Regions from separate parts of the Homo sapiens genome. Here region 1 is linked to region 2. Evidence: promoter capture Hi-C in 16 types of primary human blood cells and fetal thymus (Javierre and others, 2016). All regions are on one chromosome and are shown on one strand. The core of a region is centred on a gene start or on the middle of the fragment in contact, and the rest is flanking DNA. Distances in the headings are between cores, read along the strand shown. Region 1 overlaps LOC105374455 (a long non-coding RNA gene). Region 2 holds the start of YIPF4 (Yip1 domain family member 4).

Region 1 (3,237 bases), core at 624-3,123, 1.3 Mb after region 2:
GAAAAAGGGTTTCATTCTTGACTCACTTTTGATGTAAGCTGTGTTCAATATTGAACTAATATTGAATATAATATTGTGTTCAATATTAGTGAATGAACGAGTGATGACTTCCCTAAAAGTATTAGTATTCCCTTTCTTTCTTTAAAAAAAATCCAGCTTTTGCAGGAATAGTATTCTCTTTCTAATTCACATCGTTAGCTTAAATGAAGGATTGCTGATATGAAATTTTTATATATTATGGTTTAAAGGAATTCTACAATGGCTTTCTCTGCAATTAAAAAAAGCTTTTAAATACTACTTAAACAAAATTGTGTTCCCTACCAGGCAGGCTCAGAAAGAAAGAAAAAAAATTGTCATCATTTTAATGGGATCTACGAGGAATCTTTTGCATTTTATTTAGAAATTATTTATGTTTATAATGGAACCTGATATCTGAAGACCTCTTTGAAACTGAGTTTACTAGAATGAAAGGAACAATGATTTGGAAGTGAGGAAGCTCTGGTTTTTGCATCAGATCAGTATAAGAAAGAATTTTTCTAACACTCTAAGAGTAGTCTTAAAGTGACTTAGGTATCGTTGAGAGATGATGAGCTTCCTGTCTAGAAGGTGTTCACCTAGAGGCTGAATAATTACTTAAGGGTACTCTTGTGAGAAGGCACACCCACAAGTGCCAGCACATGCCCTTTTACTGATGACTTTGATTCTAGATTCTTTCTCAAAAAAGAATATAAAATACCAACTTAAAACCCTTCTAGGGTCTGGCGCGGTAGTTCAGACCTGCAATCCCAGCACTTTGGGAGGCTGAGGCAGGACGATTACTTGAAGCCAGGGGTTCAAGGCCAGCTTGAGCAACATAGCAAGACTCTGTCTCTGTTAAAAAAAAAAAAATTAATTAAAAATGACTTCCAGGTGGGACCCAAGTGAGGCAGAGGGGCAGGGGCTGGCAGACCAGCGGTAAGCATGGCATATCAGGGCCTCACCATACGTCTCATTGCAATGAGCGTGTTTTAGGGCTTCACTGGTTTCTTCATGCCTTGGTTCATCCCTAAGGGTCCTAAGTAGGGAGTTATCATTACCATGTAGGTGACCTGTTCAGTTTGTTGCTGTCTCTTTTGGCTGATTGCAATCCTGGCCAACTCAACCCTCTCTTCAGACTGCAGTTGAAACATGAAATCATCTGGTATCCGAAGTGTCATTGGCCTTGAGGAAGACAGGCTTTACAGTGCTCAGTCTTAGCAGTCATGAGAAAAGAATTCCTTCTAGATGCAAAATCCAAACCACACCACTTTTCTTGACTTGCTTATTTTGGGCATCAGCTGCCTTAAACATTCACACCACATTTGAATGTCTAACACAATGCAGCATTTTTTTCTTCAACTTTTTTATGCTTTAATGAATTATGTGCCTACTTAACCTAAACTGTGCCAACTCCTCAAAATGATAATGCACTCTTTTGAGAGAGAAGATGCTTTTCTTCTGAGAAATGTGTTATTATGTCCTTGGAATTTGTGGATTTGTAGTGGCTCCTGCCTTCTCATAACATGGGAATCAGTGAACTATTTAGAACGTACTACTGCCTGACAAGACTCCAGTGGGGCAGTCAGTAGGAGAGGACGTTCAGAGGAAAGAGCTCTCCCAACAGAATTACACCAAATTATGTGTTCTTTTTTTTTTCTTTCTTCCTTTTTAAACAGAGTTTTGCTCTGTCGCTCCCGCTGAAGTGCAGTGGTGATCTCGTAGCCTCAACCTCCTGGGCTCAAGTGATCCTCCTGCCTCAGCCTCCCAAGTAGCTGGGACTGCAGCCGCTGGCCACCATGCCTGGCTAAGTTTTTTTATTTTTTGGTAGAGACGGTTTTGCCATGTTGCCCAGGCTGGTCTCAAAATCTTGGGCTCAAGCAATCCGCCCACCTTGGCCACTGCACCCCGTCATGAGCCACCACATCCGGCCCAAGGTATATTTTCAGCATGAATTTCTCATTTCTGCCATCTTTTGGAATAAATCATTTTTCTGTTTTCTATAGATAAAATAAAATATAAAATAAAGCTATTCTAGTGTCCCATCTTTGAGGGAGTCTGGTTACTGTCCATATTCTTAACTGCTGCTGCTACAGATTACCACAAATTTAGAGGCTTAAAACAAGACAGATTTATTATCTTACAGCTCTGGAGGTCAGACACCTGAAATGGATCTCACCTGGCAAAAATGGGCAGGTTTGCATTTCTTCTGGAATCTCTAGGAGAGAATCTGTTTTCTTCCCTGTTTTGGTTTCTAGAGGCCACCCACCTTCCTTGGCTTATGACTCCCCTCCTTCATCAAGACCAGCAACACCACTCCGACCCCTGCTACATGGTAGTCATGCCCTCTTACCTTCCTGCCTCCCTCTTTTACTTATAAGGACCCCCATCCTTGTGCCAGATAATCCAGAATAATCTCCCAACCTTAAGATCTTCAATTTAACCACACCTGCAAAGTCCCTTTTTCCATAGTCTCATGTTCCAACGATTATGATGCAGATAGTTTTCGGGGGAGGGGGGTCCATACCACACTGCCTTTCCTGGAGAGTAGAAACAATGAATGATCTTAAAGATCAGCCTTTTCTAGCTCTTCTTGAAGAGAATAAAGACAAATTATTTTTTTCACTTGTGAAAGAAATGTAAATGGGAAAATTGAAAACTGATTTCAGTTTCCAGAGGAACATGTTTTATAAGTCATAACCTTAAAAATTATTAGAAGGTTTTTAATTATATAGTAATTAAAAATTTATGCAGCTGACATCTTTAAGAAAGTTACTTCTAGCATCTATAGAAGTAATTTTTTATCATGGAAAAGAGGTAGGTATAAGCTCAAATATAAGATTTGTCATGGATTGGTTTCTAAGAGGTGATTAAATAGGCATCTAAAACAAATAACTTTTCTATCAAAAATAAAAGAACACTGTCTGAAAAATAGCAGCATTTTCCATTTTTAGTGAATTTATCTTTAGAATGACCCTCCAGCAAGGAGAAAATAGAAAGACCATAGATTTACTGGTGTTGCTCAGAAATGCAAGTTTGTATATGTTGCTAAATAAAGTCCTTTTCAGCTTGCACAGTGAAAGCACAACTCTTTTTTTTTTTAAGTTAGCATGTAGAATTAAATCTTGTATGGTCTCAAATACTTTATATTACTAAAGAATGCTGTTTTTTCAAATCATTCCTCTGGCTATGTTAGTATAGTTTCTGAGCCCTGGCAATTTT
Region 2 (3,357 bases), core at 632-3,131:
GACATTCCATTGCCCAGGGATGGGCAGGAGACAGATGCCTTCCTCTTGTCTCAACTGCAAAGAGGCATGCCTTCCTCTTATACTAATCCTCCTCAGCACAGACCCTTTACGGGTGTCGGGTTGGAGGACGGTCAGGTCTTTCCCTTCCTACGAGGCCATATTTCAGACTATCACATGGGGAGAAACCTTGGACAACACCTGGCTTTCCTAGGCAGAGGTACCTGCGGCCTTCCGCAGTGTTTGTGTCCCTGGGTACTTGAGATTAGGGAGTGGTGATGACTCTTAAGGAGCATGCCGCCTTCCAGCATCTGTTTAACAAAGCACATCTAGCACAGCCCTTAATCCATTTAACCGTGAGTTGACACAGCACATGTTTCAGAGAGTTCGGGTTTGGGGCTAAGGTTATAGATTAACAGCATCTCAAGGCAGAAGAATTTGTCTTAGTACAGAACAAAATGGAGTCTCCTATGTCTACTTCTTCCTACACAGACACAGTAACAATCTGATCTCTCTTTCTTTTCCCCACAATCACCCATCAAATTGGCATGTTTTAAAAAATGGTTATATTCGGGCTGGGTGCAGTGGCTCACGCCGGTAATCTCAGCATTTTGGGAGGCCAAGGCAGGCAGACCACAAGGTCAGGAGATCGAGACCATCCTGACTAACATGGTGAAACCCCGTCTCTGCTAAAAATACAAAAAATTACCCAGGCGTGGTGGCAGGCACCTGTAGTCCCAGCTACTCGGGAGGCTGAGGCAGGAGAATCGCTTGAACCCTGGAGGCGGAGGTTGCAGTGAGCCGAGATCGCGCCACTGCACTCCATCCTGTCGACAGAATGAGACTCCGTCTCAAAAATAAATAAATAAATAAATAAATATTAGCCAAACATGGTGGCAGGGGGCTTGTAGTCCCAGCTACTTAGATAGCTGAGTTGGGAGGACTGCCTGAGCCCAGGAGTGTGAGGTTACAAGGAGCTATTACTGCACCACTGCACTCCAGCCTGGGTAACGGAGCGACCTTGTCTCTAAAACAAACAAAACCACTACATTTACTCATCCTTTAAGTACCAACATGTTACCTCCTGTGAGAAAATTTTCCAGAAATACCATTTAACACACTAATAGACATGTCTCTCGATTGCTCTATTGCTGATCAATTGTGTATTTCTCCAAGTTGGCCTCCTAATATACCCCAACCCCTCTTTCTTCAAGTTGGAAGCCACATTTATGTAGCTTGAATATTAAAGTTACGTATGTAAACATTTAAAAGCAGGTGAGTTTGTTAACTTCGGCAAGCTTATCAGTAGACAGGGCCTTCCAGTGAAAAGAGCACTTGACTAGAAATTAGGAGATTTAGGTACTGTCCTAAATCTGTTTCTACCTTACTTTCTCTGGCCTCAGTTTTCTCCCTCATAAAGGAATGTATCTACAGCCCTAGTCTCTGGGTGGCGATTTACGGCTTCTCTGCCTTTTATCTTCATTCTCCGATCCATCCCTCTTCATCTTACAGGTGAGGAAACTGCCATCCAGACATTACATATAACTTAGTCAAGATCCTACACTATTAATTAATGGCTAATGGCAAGGGAATCTTGAGATCCTGTACGGCGGCTGACCCATAAAATCTACCTAGTTCTAAAATTCTTTAACCCACCCACTTAACAAAAACGGAGGTAATAGGTAAACAAAACGCCAGGAAAGATCGCACTTAAAGGAACAAAAGCACCCAAGGAGGAAAAAGAGGCCTGAGATTTCCACGAATTACAAGTGAACTTCCTGTCCTGGGTAAACTTCCGGAATCAACAACAGGAAGACCCAATCAGAATCTTCCTCCGGGAGCCAATGGGAGAGCACATTACAAAGAGCCAATCCCAGCGCCGCTGTCACTGTTATGGTCCTGTCAGGGTGCCGGCGTCGTGGTGCTTGGGTGGTCGCCACCAAGAAGACTTTGGTGGGGTAGTCTCGGGGCAGCTCAGCGGCCCGCTGTGCCCGTTTCTGGCCTCGCTCGCAGCTTGCACGTCGAGACTCGTAGGCCGCACCGTAGGGCGAGCGTGCGGGTCGCCGCCGCGGCCGCCTCGGGGTCTGGGCCCAGCCGCAGCCTCTTCTACCGCGGCCGGTTGGGAGTCGCCGCGAGATGCAGCCTCCGGGCCCGCCCCCGGCCTATGCCCCCACTAACGGGGACTTCACCTTTGTCTCCTCAGCAGACGCGGAAGGTGAGGCTGAGCCCCTGGAAGGGCTATCACCCGGAGGAAGCCAGGGCCCGACGCCGTAGGGTCTTTCTGGTGCCGAGGTGGTCGTGGCCGGGTGGGGACAGGCAGGAAGCTGACTGGTGACTGCAGCCCACCACGCCTGCCGGGCCTTCCGAGAGGCCCCGAAGGACGGAGGGAGGGGTGTAGGGAGCTGCTTTTTAAAGCATCAAGTTACTCGGTCAGCCCTTGGTTTTCCCCATACCGTCTGGTGGCTGGTTTTTCTGGGTGGCTTAGTCTCTTCAATTGGACCCACAAAATCCTAAGCTTTTAGTTCTGGAATTACTCGCCCTTACTCAGAAAAAGGACAGATTGGCCAAGGGAGATCTCAAAGAATGAGAAAAAGGAAGGAGGGCTGTTTTCTTCTGTTATGTATCAACAGATAATTTTTTGGGGGGGGTCTGGGATCAGATTCGGCACTGCAAATACAAACTAAATGGTTTTTATTGAATTTGATGTCTTGCCCGAGTCCCCGTTTTCCTCGCATTTTGTAATGTTTCACCTCAGTATTCAGAGAAATTGACGCAGGTATATTGGAAGTTTAGTGTAAACCAACAATGTGTTTCCAGTAGCCTCTACAGATTTCCTTGTATTATTCTGAGGAAGCGATTGTGCTGGAGATATTTTCCTACAGCACAGGAGAATGTTTCCCTCCTATTCTCAGTTCCCTATCCAACTCATAACCTGGATATTATTCTGCTAGTCATTTTCAATTTTTTTTTTTTTCTTGAGCTCTGTCGCCCAGGCTGGAGTGCAGTGGCGCGATCTCGGCTCACTGCAAGCTCCGCCTCCCGGGTTCACGCCATTCTCCTGCCTCAGCCTCCCGAGTAGCTGGGGCTACAGGCACCCGCCACCACCCCCGACTAATTTTTTTTGTATTTTTAGTAGAGATGAGGTTTCACCGTGTTAGCCATGATGGTCTCTCGATCTCCTGACCTCGTGATCCGCCCGCCTCGGCCTCCCAAAGTGCTGGGATTACCGGCGTGAGCCACCGCGCCCCGGCCATTTTCAAATTTTTATTACACTTCGTGCACCAGTTATTTTCCAGTGACCAGACTTACTGGCTGCTATGAAATCATAAATTATGTTTACAGAAATTTCAGTCTGAGAAA

The links. Contacts are between HindIII fragments. The CHiCAGO score rates a contact against its expected background, and 5 or more counts as called.
Region 1: a contact is called between a fragment that was not itself captured here and the fragment with the promoter of YIPF4 in region 2, in 1 of 17 cell types (fetal thymus). The highest score is 5.3, in fetal thymus.

Annotation. Positions count from the first base shown.
Region 1 is chr2:33,601,082-33,604,318 of GRCh38, forward strand. All of the region lies in intron 1 of LOC105374455 (a long non-coding RNA gene), which reads left to right. It also overlaps the pseudogene ATP6V0E1P3. Among named protein-coding and RNA genes, the nearest start is that of FAM98A, 3.4 kb to the left of the region's middle. The HindIII fragment of the contact is 3,183 bases long and covers 283-3,237 here.
Region 2 is chr2:32,276,023-32,279,379 of GRCh38, forward strand. YIPF4 (Yip1 domain family member 4) reads left to right here and starts at 1,882. Exons shown (of 6, transcript NM_032312.4): 1 at 1,882-2,212. The coding sequence starts at 2,134. RefSeq lists an enhancer at 997-1,742 and a silencer at 1,980-2,089. The HindIII fragment of the contact is 1,217 bases long and covers 1,294-2,510 here.